Regions from separate parts of the Homo sapiens genome. Here all the other regions are linked to region 2. Evidence: promoter capture Hi-C in 16 types of primary human blood cells and fetal thymus (Javierre and others, 2016). All regions are on one chromosome and are shown on one strand. The core of a region is centred on a gene start or on the middle of the fragment in contact, and the rest is flanking DNA. Distances in the headings are between cores, read along the strand shown.

Region 1 (3,984 bases), core at 310-2,809, 220 kb before region 2:
CTTTAAAAAATATGAAAGAGAAGGGATGTCAGGCAGCAGGAAATGGTGTTGGGTGGAAATACAATAATGCAGGAGGAAATGGGGAGCCCTGGGAAAGGTAAACACGGGGTAAATCTAAATAAGCACAACAGCCTAAAACAAAAACAATGTCAAATGGTATTTCTAGTTCTAGATCCCTGAGGAATTCCCACACTGTCTTCCACAATGGTTGAACTAGTTTACAGTCCCATCAACAGTGTAAAAGTGTTCCTCTTTCTCCACATCCTCTCCAATGTATGTTTATTGCAGCACTACTCACAACAGCAAAGACTTGGAACGAACCCAAATGTCCAACAATGATAGAATGGATTAAGAAAATGTGGCACATATACACCACGGAATACTATGCAGCCATAAAAAATGATGAGTTCATGTCCTTTGTAGGGACATGGATGAAGCTGGAAACCATCATTCTCAGCAAACTATCACAAGGACAAAAAACCAAACACCGCATGTTCTCTCTCATAGGTGGGAACTGAACAATGAGAACACTTGGACACAGGAAGGGGAACATCACACTGGAGGGGGAGGGGGAGGGATAGCATTAGGAGACATACCTAATGTAAATTAGGTTAGTTAATGGGTGCAGCACACCAACATGGCACATGTATACATATGTAACAAACCTGCACATTGTGCACATGTACCCTAGAACTTAAAGTATAAATAAATATATATATATATATATATATATATATCCCAAAAACAAAAAAACAAAAACAATGTCTTCTAAGGTTTGAATATATATAGAATTAAGATACATGAGAACGCTTGCACAAAAGTTGGGAGGAAAATGGATGCAATCAAAAGTCGCAAGGTCCTTCCTTGCATTGTCTGGGAAATAGTAAAAAAGTACTCATTTAAGGTAACCTCTAGTCTAAGGTTACCACTTAAGAAAAAAAGTGTGTAACTAACAAACCAATGTAGGGCAGGGGAAGTAGAATTAAAAATATATTGATTAATTCAAAAGTAGGCAGGAAAGAAGAAAAAAGGAGTAGATGTGACAACTAGAAAATAAAGTTAGATAATTTAAACCCAAACAGCTCAGTAATTACATTAAATGTAAATGGGCTATATATGCCTATTAAAAGCCAAAGACTGTCAGACCAGACTGGCTTCCCCAACTATTTATAAGAAATCCATTTTAAATATAAGGAAATAGAAAAGTTTAAGTAGTATGAGAGAAAATAATATGCCACACAAAGCAGTAATCCCAAGAAAGCTGGTGTCACAAAAGCAGATCAAGGAGACTACAGCAAGAATAAATGCCAGAGAAAAGAAAAGACGTTTCATAATGGTAACAGGGTCAAATTGACAGGAATTATCCAGTAATACTCAAACTAGTTGTTCTAAAACTTAATGCTGTATAGAAAATACCTGGATCTGGGAAAGAGCCCAGGTATGTGCTTATTAAATTACAGCTTCAGGCACTTTTAATGCCAATCACACAAGGACCACTTTGAGAACCAGTGGTCCCAGCCCCCTAGGTGGGCTACCTAAGCCTCAGTAGCCTTGACACTTCTATAGGGCAGTTGGGTAAAAAATGGGTCAGACTTGAGGGCCTCCAAGGGGCAGACTGATAGGTGAAGGCAGAGCTGCTCCGGCCACTGGACAATGGAAGGGTCAGCACTGGGAGCCAAGGTTAACTGGCCCTCTGAAGCCCCATCCACCTGCCCTGTGCAGCTTGCAGCTCACAGAGAAAGCTGGGCATTTTCTAATTGGTGGCACAGGGAGCTCTGGTGCTTGGATGGATAGGTACTGAGAGACATGGGTCAAAGCTAGAGGTCCAGATGGGGTGTTGGGATGAAGAGGCCACAGACATATGCAGAATCTTAGGGTGGCCAGGGCACTCTTAGGCCCACCTGGCACTTGGGAAAGTGTGAAGGGATTGGGGACACACTGTGTCCCTACTGCCTCACCAGGGCATAGATAGGGCCTTAGAAAATGGCAGGAGGAGCCCAGCAAGGACACCGTGTCCTCCTCAGTCCTGTGACCTCCCTTCCCGCAAACAGAGCTTGGGGACTTGCAAGTAATTTGGCGAGTGCAGCTATGAGGGCAGCCCAGAATAAAAATGGAACAGGGTCGGGGGGTTCCTAGGAGCCTGGATCCGCATCAGACCTCTGTAGCCGATTTCTGGCTGTGTGACCTTGGGTTCGTGGTAAACATCTGGAGCCTCGGTTTCCCCCTGTGAATGCCAACCTTCTGGGCTGCTGTGAGGATGAGGGAGATTGCAGAGGGTGTCTGGAACAGGGCCTGGGGTGTGGACATAGGTGTGGTGCTAGTCTGCCTGAGCCCGACCAGGTAGGGGCTGCAGCGAGGCCAGCCCCACACCCTCAGGGTGGGGCCACTCACCCGTCCGTTGGTCTCGCCCTTCCACCAGCCCTGGTCTCCGCCGATGCGGCTGTAGATCCTCACCACGTCACCCTCCCGCAGCGAAAGCTCCCTCATATCTCGGGCGGCAAAGTTATACCTGGCCACAGCTGTGCCGATGACGCGGGGCGTGAACACTGTTGAGGGAGATGGGCAGCATCACACAGCTGCAGGAGGAGCCCAACCAGTGATCCAGGAGGCCCTTGGGCCAAGCTGGGTCTCTCCCCTGGTGCCCAGAACCCTGCTCTGTACCCAGAGAGGAAGGATGTCAAGCAGAAAGGCTCTGGAGGGACACACTGGCCTCCAATCCCAGGGCCCCTTGCCCTCTGGGTCTGGGGACACAGCACATCCAAGTCCCTGCAATGAGGATGTTCTTAGGGACAAGAGCAGGTGCCCAGGCTTTGACCATCATCATTCCAGTGGTCCCCCAAATCCAACCAGAAACCCAGTGGAACCAGCTTGGCCCAGATGCAGAATCCTGATAGACAGGTGACAATGACCATGGCTGAGGGCGAAACACACACAGCTGCTGGGAAGGGACTTTGACTCTGGCAGCCGAAAGCCATGAGGTCAAGGCTGACTGAAAACCCCTCCTCCCTGCACCCAAGTCCCACAGCTCCTCCTCGTGGCCACCTGCTTTCTGCTACCAGAGGCAAAGCTCTTGATGAACAAGGAGGAATGACAGTGGACGGGGCTGGGAAAGTGGCCATCAGGGTGGGCGTGTCCACAGGGGGTGGGTGGTGACAATGGCAGGGCCAAGCCTGACGTGTCCTCAGGTGCTCGCAGCAGCCTCTGCCCGGCCTCCCCAGCCCCTTTCTCCCCTCCACCCAGTGCCAGACTGCGGACAACTGTGGCCACGTCAGGCAGGGCTGTGGGGCCAGTGGGCAGCTCCGTGCTGGGTCTCCCAAGGCAGCTGCCACAGGCCCGGTCCCCCCACGCCCTGGGGAGCAGCGGTACCTGACCAGAAGGGAGCGGAGGGGCCCTGAGAAGCAAAGCTGAGGCCCTGAGGACTGAGAAAAGAAAAGTTGTAGGAAGCACAGGAAGCTGCAAAGAGGCGAGAGAGAACGTGAGGCGGGCAGCAGGGCATCCACGCACAGTCACGGTGGGCACAGCTACAGGCCGGGGGGCATGGGGTGGGGCAGGCCCTTTGGCAGGAGAGGCCCTACAGGGGGGCAAAGGAGGCAGGGGGCAGCACGGGTTGTCAAGCCCCACCCAGGCACAGGTGCCACTCGGCCACACCTGAGCTACCCTGGAACCACTCTATGCACCCGTGTACTCGAGAGCAAATTGGGACCACCTCCTCTCATGCCCTCGCCTGGCACATAGCAGGTGCTCACTAAGGCCAGCTGTTCCTCTCCTGTCCAGCTCGGCCTGTGTGAGACCCATGGCCCTGCAGGACCCTGCAGGCTGGAGGACGTGGGGTGACTCTGGAGAGAGTCCTGAGCGGGAAGCCGCATGCTCGGGGCCTGCCCCTGCCCCTGATTCCGTGTGGCCTTCCCTGTTCTGAGCTGTGGAGTCCAACCTGCAAACAGGCTGCCTCTCACAGAGGAGGCCCAGGGGCTGGGCACAGGGAGG
Region 2 (3,896 bases), core at 1,177-3,676:
CTCCACGGGACAGAGGAGTGGATGGCAAGATCAGCCTCAGCGACACAGGGCACTACGTGCCACAGTCCAGGTGACGGTCATTTCCTGGGCACTGTGCGAAGGGTGTGCCTTCTGTGCCTGCCCTTAGCAAATCCTCACAGCATGGCTACGAGGGGACTGCTATGACTGTTCTCATGACAGAGATGGGGAAACTGAGGCTCTGGAGGTCGTTGCCTACCTGGGAGGGGACAGTGCCAGGATTCAATCAGAGCGGAGAGCCACACAGACACACACCCATCTGGTCCTCCTACCATCCAGGCCCCTACACGCCCTCCACGAGTCCGGCAGCAGGGCCCCTAAACACCCCTCTACCGGCCCAGCAGCGGGACCCCTAGACACCCGTCCACCCCCCAGCAGCAGGGCTCAAGGGGCCTCTGTCAGGGTTCGTATTGCTGCCTGGCCAATGGCTCCAGAGACCCCAGGAAGTCTCTGGCTTGAACTTCCAGTGCAGGAGCTGAGCCAAGCCACCTGCCACAGCCACGGCCCCCTCCTCTTCCCATCTTCCCAAACCACAGCTGGGGAGGGGCAGCCCCCGGACCCAGCGAGTCCACCAGGCAAGGCTGGGCTCCTCCCAAGCCTCCTCTGTGCGGACCCAGCTGCCCTGCCTCTGCCCTGAGCCCCAGCCTGCAAGCAGCAGGGAATCCTGCCCGAGCAAGTCAGCCTGGGCAGCCCCTGGAACTCATATCAAAGGCAGCCACCTTGGTTCGAGGCCCAGCCCTGCTCCCCAACAGCTACCCTTCTCCTCAGTTTCTCCAGCCATAAAATGGAGTCCAGACTTCCCAGTCCCCGTGGGGCTCTGAGAACAGATCCGGGGAAGCCCTCTGCAGCAGTGACCGCCACCCCCGCCACCTGCACCTGACCACTGACATCCTGCGGGAAGAGGCGCTGGCTCCCAGGGAGGCCTCTGAGGGCTCCTGCTAAGCCGGTCCAGGCAGTGCTGGGTAATCATTACCCAGTGGGAAGGCGGCCCCTTCCCCTCTGGGCTTGCCTTTGTCAGCGCCCCCCAACCCGGCAGAGAAAGGCCCGGTCTCCTAGGAAACGCAGTCACCGCCAAAGGGCAGAGGCCTCGCTGCCCAGCCTGGAATCGCTGGTGACTCACTCTCCCTCCTTCCCAGGAACCACGTCCTAAGTCCCACTGGTGAATGGTCCCTCTCCACATGGAGTTGCCACTGCGCGCGGTGAGGGGCTGCTGAGCTGGCTGGAAGACCGCACCTCCTCGGCGCTGGGTGGACCCGGCTGCCACCCGCTCTGCCTCCCCCGACCTCTTCTAAGCTGCTCCCGGTAAGGATTCCGCGACCCCCGGAGAACAGGACGGAAGCCTCGATTCTCTCAAGTCTTAGCCAAGTTCCCTCTTAAGAGGCCAAGAAAAGCAGCTTCGTTCGGCTGGGCAGGCATTTTCCTGCCTGGCCCTGCGGCCGCACGCGTGCCTCCGCCGCGACAAAGGCCACACTCAGCGCCCGAAGGAGGGGTGGGGGTGTTGGGAAAGCGATGGGGGCCAGGACTGGGGCCAAGTGGCCCTGGGGATCCTCGAGGCGGCTCGACCCGGGAGCCAGGACTGGCGCCAAGTGGCCCGGGTCCGGGTCCGGGAAGAGGCGGAGGCCGGCGAGGGGGCGGTGCCCGGGGCCAACCCAGCTCCCTCCGGCCCCGAGGGCTCCCGCCCCGCGCCCCTCCCGGGCCCTCCAGCCGCGCCCCGGGCCGGCGCAGCGACCGCGCCCGCTCTTCCACCGGCGTCCGGCCAGGAGGCGCGAGGCCCAAGGATGCGACCCACGACGCGCACACCCGGCTCGGCAGGCTCCCTGGGAAATGAGGGGCCACTCGCAGGGCCCCGCAGAGCGAGCGCAGCGCCGGAGCCTCCCCCATCCCAGGCCGCGCAGACCGCGGAACCGGCGCACCAGAGCAGTGCCCGCGGGCGGCGGCGGCGCGACCCAGGCTGAGGGGACTTTGGCCAACTTCGCGCCTCCTGAGGTCGCGTCTCGGAGGCCCGGGGCGCACCCTCCAGCCGCCCGCCCGCGTCCCGGAGCCCGGCCGCCCCAGCCAGGGCGCCTGGGCCGCCGCCGCTGCGACCTCCGCGTTCAGTCCGCGCGTCGGGCAGCGCGAACGCCGCCTCCCCGGGGCCCTCCCGCCCGCCGGGCGCTCACCTGGGACATCTGCGGCCGGAAGTTGATGTCCTTGAGGTCGATGGAGCCGGGGGAGAGGTTGTGCAGCAGCTGGCACAGAAGGACCCCGTCGCGCAGCGCCTGCGCCAGGTCGAAGACCACGGCCGAGGGCCACACCACCCGGTGGTTGGGCGGCAGGACCTTGCAATCGATGAGCCAGCGGCCGCACTGCCGCCACTGCTCCATGGCGCCCGCGGGCCCGACCGGCTCAGGGCAGTGCTCGAGCCAAAGTGCAGCGGCCGCGGGGCATCCCGCCCGCGCGCGCGCGGGGCTCAGGGCCGGGGCGGGGCTTCGCGCGGGCTGCCCCAGGTCCCCCGCTGCGCCGCCGTGCGTCCCCTCCTCTTCCTCCTCCTACTCCTCGGGCTCCTCTCGGGCCGCCGCTCCCGCCCACGTGCGGCCGCGGGGCGGGCAACGGGCAGCGCGCCGGATCTCCCCGCTTCACACACGCAAGTGCCTGCGGGCCCCGGGCCGGGCTCCACGCAGCCAGTCGCCGCAGCGCTCCCCAATCCGCGCCGCCGGGCGCCGCATTCTGCGCTCGGGGCGCCCCGCGGCCGCCGCGGCTCCTGCCCCGCCCGAGACAAAGGCCCGGCGGGGTCGCTCGCTCCGCGCGTCCCGGGCCTGGGCCGCCCGCGTCGCCGCCGCTTTGTTCGCCCCACCCGCAGTCCCCACGCCCGGCGCTGCGACTCGACGACTCGGCGGCTCGGCGGCTCCACGGCTCCGGGGCGCTGGGGGCGCAGGGGGCGCGGCCACGGCCGGGCGGGGCAGGGGCGGGGCCGGAGCACTCGCCTGGCACCTCCCCGTGTCCCAAGCGCCGCCCCCGCCCCCCCACTTCCTGCCCCGCTACCGCCCGCGAAAGTTGCGGTGGGCGGGGGTTGCGGCGCAGGCCCAGGTCCGGCCGACTTTCTCCAAGGGCGCTCGGACTTTGGGGAGCCCTTCTCCCTGGGGGAGCGACCTCGCCCGTGGAGTGATGGCCGGGCGTCCCCCCGGGTGCCTTTGGTCCTCCGTGGAGGTCAGGAGGTGGTCCCTGTCGCGCTGGGCGCCCTCGCATGGCCGTTCGGTAACGACAGACTCGGGAGAGGGCACCGGGCTGGGCCGAAGCTTACTGAGCCCCCTTGGCCCATCAAGCCGCCCCGGCGGGATACCCGAGGCTGAGGCTGAAGGCACACGGGCCCAGGACTCCCAGAGCCCTCTTCCTGTCCTCCGCCCTGGCCGGGGGCCCATAGGAAGACCCCCGACCCTGCATAAAGGCCAGGATTCCCCAGCTTTTGGCCAAAGTCCTGGCCACTCGCAGCTGCCCAGCGGGCAGTTCCTGGCGTCCAGGGCGGAATGCGTGACATGAGTGAGGGCAGGAAGGTGCTCTCCGGCCCAGGGTCGCAGCCGGCCCCGGTGCTGATCCGCCCTGATCTCCCTTCTAGGCCACACCCTGGGTGGTGGGGGCGCGGTCTGTCCAGCTGGCAACGTGTGACGGTAGGAGGGGCTTCAAGGACAAACAGATTCTGCAACTGAAATTATATGGATCCTGGCTCAGCTGCCGGGAACCGCGGGTTTTCACTGCTGATTCACTGGGGGACACCAGGCAAGTCCAAGCCCTTCTCTGAGACTGGCTCAGCCCGGAGGCTGGGGTGCGGTGTCTGAGGGCTCCCACCCTGGACTCCGGTGGAATCCTGGGCCTGTATGAGCTGGGGCTGCACTGCAGCCCCC
Region 3 (3,941 bases), core at 393-2,892, 190 kb before region 2:
CAGAAGCAAGGCAGGAGGTCCAGGGGCACCCCAAACCCTAAGGCCCCCAGCCCACCCCTGTGGCCCCTTTGAAAAGTGCCCCTGACCTGGCCTGAGGACTCTAGGTGGGGAAGCCAGGGCAGGTGGTGAACCTCAAGGCTTTCAGAGCTTCCCAAGACCGCCTGGAGGCGGGAGGACGAGTCTGGGCTGGGGAGAAGGAAAGACAGAGTCCCCAGCGAGGGGTCCTGCCCGCATGGAGCCATGTCTGCTGCTGCTGGGGCTGGGGCCACGCTCGGGCCCGAGGGACACCACACTGCCTGACTTCCCACCAGGCCCCGCACCACTGCGGACTCGGCTTCAAGCATTTCAGGTGAGCTGGGCCCAGTGATGGCCCCAGTCCCTCCCTGTCGAGGCAAGTCTTCATGTAGGTGGAAAAAGCTCCCAACTGAAGCCCAGCGGATAACATGCCTGGTGCCAGCAGCTCTAGTGTGGCCAAACCAGCTTTGTGAGCTCCGCCTTTCAATTTCACACCAAGTCACCTTGGCCCGAGGTTTAGGTGGACGAGGGGCTGGAGTGCAGATCCCAGCCTTACTCTCCTCACACCATGCTCTACCGGGAACACCCACATCAGCCACAGCACAGCTGAGCTGGCAGCCTTCTCCACCTGGCAAACTTCTACTCGTCTGTCAAAACTCTTCCCTATCATTGCCCCTTCTTCACTTCAACCCCTGCACCAGCAGGGCCAGAGGGAAAAGCAAGGAGATAGGTCAAAGGGCAGCAGGTAGAGGCCTGTCCAAGGTCAGTGGGAGCCCAAAGAGGAGACTGCCCCGGGTGACCCCCACCCACCAGCTCTGAGCTCCTGCAATGGGTCTCACTCATCCCCATACCCCAGCACCCAGCCCGGAGCCTGCCTGCACCAGGCACTCACACACGGCTGTGAGTGGCCACAGCCACAAGCCTGGACACAGGTCCTTCTATCCATTTGATAAGAGGATGCAGGAGGTTGGGGGTGGGGGGAATGGCAGGCACTTGAAGCAAACAGGAGAACTCTGGGGAAAGACAGACCTCCATGAAGAGCCTGAAAGGGCCCTGGCCGTGGGACGGGCTTCACACCCGGGCTCACTGCATCCTCACAGAAACACCACTGTCACCACAGGGGCCCTGAGGCTCAGAGACGTGACGTGACTTCTGAGGTCGCCCAAGAAGGGGAACAGGGCCAGATTCCAAAGCGAATGCACATGGCTCTCAACCCTGGCCCTCAGGGCCCCAGGGTGACGCCTCTGCAGAGGGACACTCTCTCTCCGTGGAGTCCAGAAGGACACTCGAGGGGCCCGCGCCCTCTCTCACCTGACCCAGGGGCAGAGCAGATGCCAGCACCTGCACACCCCTAGCCCCACTGAGCAAGGGCAGCTGGTGATGGAGAGGGCCTCGGACCAGAACTCGGCTGCAGTGGGTCCACTAGAGCCTCACACTGTGACCTTATTTGGTCATGATGCAGATGTAATGAAGGTAAGGACTGAGATGAGGCCATGCTGAAGGAAGGTGGCCCTGACTCCAATGAGAGTGGCCTCAGAAAAGGACACAGAGACGCGGGGAGGCCATGTGGAGATGGGGACAGAGAACGAAGCAGCCCCAGCCAGGAACACCCGGGGCCTCCAGCAGCTGCAGGACGTAGGAAGGATCCCCCTGAAGCCTCTGCAGGAAGCATGACCCGGGCACACCTGGACTTTGGCTCAGTGAGACTAGGAGTCTGGCCTCCAGAACAGAGACATCTCTGTTGTTTCAAGCCACCATGTTTGCGGTCATTGTTACAGCCAAGCCAGGTCACTCACACAGACGCCTTCACCCTCCGTCCACACCACAGGACTCTGAGCACCTGCCACATACCAGGCAGCATGGGCCACAGAGTCCCCAGGGGGCACAGTTTGACTTTTCCCCGAAAAATGGAGAGAAAATGACAGTGACTCCAAGCCTATTGGAGGAAGTCAGTTAAGGAGGCAAAAGTTTACAGGCCTTAATTCTAACCACATTTACTACTGTTAAGAAAAAGGAGCCAAAACTTGGAATAACACACACGGGCACACATGTATGCACACACACACACATGCATGTGCACACAAACACACAAGCACGCGTGTACACACACACACACACACACACACACACACACGACTTCATGCATTCCTGGTCTGGTTGGAGCACCTCCCAGGGGCAGCCTCCCCCTCCCCCGCCCCACTCCGGCTGACTCCTCCCCTGGAGAAAGTTGTTCAGGCGCAAATGATTTCTGTCCTGATAGAGGACATGGCCCCAAAGGTCTCAGTGTGGTCACCTTGCAAGGCACGGCCCGCCGTGTCCAGCATCCTGCCCGACCTCCCCTCTCTGCTGACAAGGTATGTGGTTCCCTTGCTCGTGAGTTGACAGACCCGTGGCCCGAGCTCCGTGGGTATTTGTGTGAGGATCATGTTTTTTAACTTTCTGAGTACGTCAAATTCTGAACCCACCACACGGTGCACAAATGCCTCCTCCAGAGATGCCTCTCCTCTGCCCATTTTCCTCATGGTATCACCTCTGCCTCCAGTCCACACAGCCCCAACCTCTCAAGATGCCCAGGGACAGGCCAGCGTGGATTGAGGACCACAGGCCATGGGCTCAGGTATGGACCAAGGATGCAGGAACAAGCAAGGTGCACGGCTGAGCTGCCAGCTCTGGCCTCCGTTTCCCCATCTGGGAAATGGGGGTTAGACAGAGCGGGAGCTGAGGCTTCTTGACTTCAGAGGTTCCCAAAGGCAGCCCTGCCAGAGCAGGTGGCCAAGCCAACCCCTACTGGGGTTTTTGAGGTGGACCATGACCGGGGACTCTCCCTGCAGGCCGTACCCTGGAACCACCCAGCCTTGGGCTTCGGGTAGGAACCATCCACAGGGCAGCCTCACTCGTTCCAGGATTCCGAGTGGAAGTCTCGGTGCACCAAAGCGCTCACCTGTCTCGGATCCTTCATCTCCACATACGCAGGGAGATCCCACCCAGCCCTGGGGGAGGAGGGCGTGGCCTTCGTCTCGTTCTGTTCTGCATTCCTCCCAAAAGCGCTCGTGCAAAGCTCCACAGAGAGCTCCTCTTGAAAGCCAGTTCGTGGCCTTCCTGCAGGGCTGCCAGCTCCCCGAGGTCGTTCCCTTTCTAGCTCTCCTGCCCCCACGTCCCCGTATGCCCCCACTCCCCGCAGCATGACTCACTGCCCCACTCAAGGAAGCCACCAGGAGCTGGACTCCAGGCCCAGCCTGGCCAGACCCAGCCACAGAGAAAAACCACACGGCTTTGTCTTATGTCCACAGCTGCAGAATGCAAGCTCCTTCCCAAGGCCCAGTGTCCCTCTGGGTGGGAGATGCCCCCTTTTAGGCCCACAGGGCAAGGCTAAGAGGAGCTCCTGCCTTGTCTGAGGACGAAGGCTGCATTCATGAAAGTATAACCTCAAAAAGAGGGAGGTGACTGTCTCCTGCCACTCAGTGCCGATCATGCCACACCGGAATGCTACTCCACCCTTCACCCCCGACGAGCTGCCAGGACCCTGTCACAAAGCCCTTCAGCAGCTTCCTCGTGCCCTCGCTTAATAAAAGAAAAATTCTAAATCCTTCCTTTGGCCTGGAAGCCCCTGCAGGACCCTCCAGCCCTTCCCTGGAGAACCGCCCCTTTTCTACTGGGCTCATGCCTCTCACCTTCCCCTAAGCTTCTGCTCCCCAACCCGCCTCGCCCCACCCCTGCAGGACTGTGCTCAGGGGGACACGTCCTCCGCTGTGCAGCCCTCACGGGTCTCCTGGGCTCTCCAGCAACGCCGCAGCTCCCCCCGGAGCTTCTCTATCTTGTCTTGGTTCTCATCCATCCCACCCAGCGAGAGGCCAGTAGCTCTGTTCACTGCGTGTCCTCAGTCCAGAGCTCAGGAGCCATACAGAGCAGGCACCCTATAAAAGCTT

What was found. The method cuts DNA at HindIII sites, captures the fragments that hold promoters and counts their contacts. A CHiCAGO score of 5 or more calls a contact.
Region 1: a fragment that was not itself captured here is called in contact with the fragment with the promoter of VAV2 in region 2 in 4 of 17 cell types (total B cells, naive B cells, M2 macrophages and 1 more); the score reaches 7.7 in total B cells.
Region 3: a contact is called between a fragment that was not itself captured here and the fragment with the promoter of VAV2 in region 2, in 13 of 17 cell types (total B cells, M1 macrophages, endothelial precursors and 10 more). The highest score is 8.2, in total B cells.

Annotation. Positions count from the first base shown.
Region 1 is chr9:133,766,051-133,770,034 of GRCh38, forward strand. VAV2 (vav guanine nucleotide exchange factor 2) reads right to left here. Exons shown (of 30, transcript NM_001134398.2): 28 at 3,367-3,453; 29 at 2,392-2,546. Among named protein-coding and RNA genes, the nearest start is that of SARDH, 30 kb to the left of the region's middle. The HindIII fragment of the contact is 6,396 bases long and covers 1-3,984 here.
Region 2 is chr9:133,989,898-133,993,793 of GRCh38, forward strand. VAV2 (vav guanine nucleotide exchange factor 2) reads right to left here and starts at 2,427. Exons shown (of 30, transcript NM_001134398.2): 1 at 2,178-2,427. The coding sequence starts at 2,381. RefSeq lists enhancers at 1-13, 742-1,469, 1,470-2,197, 2,926-3,653, 3,550-3,739 and 1 more and silencers at 1,580-2,019, 2,060-2,149, 2,420-2,569, 2,630-2,729, 2,830-3,139. The HindIII fragment of the contact is 11,248 bases long and covers 1-3,291 here.
Region 3 is chr9:133,800,207-133,804,147 of GRCh38, forward strand. All of the region lies in intron 9 of VAV2 (vav guanine nucleotide exchange factor 2), which reads right to left. Among named protein-coding and RNA genes, the nearest start is that of SARDH, 64 kb to the left of the region's middle. RefSeq lists enhancers at 1,013-1,533, 2,655-3,177, 3,178-3,700. The HindIII fragment of the contact is 4,106 bases long and covers 1-3,695 here.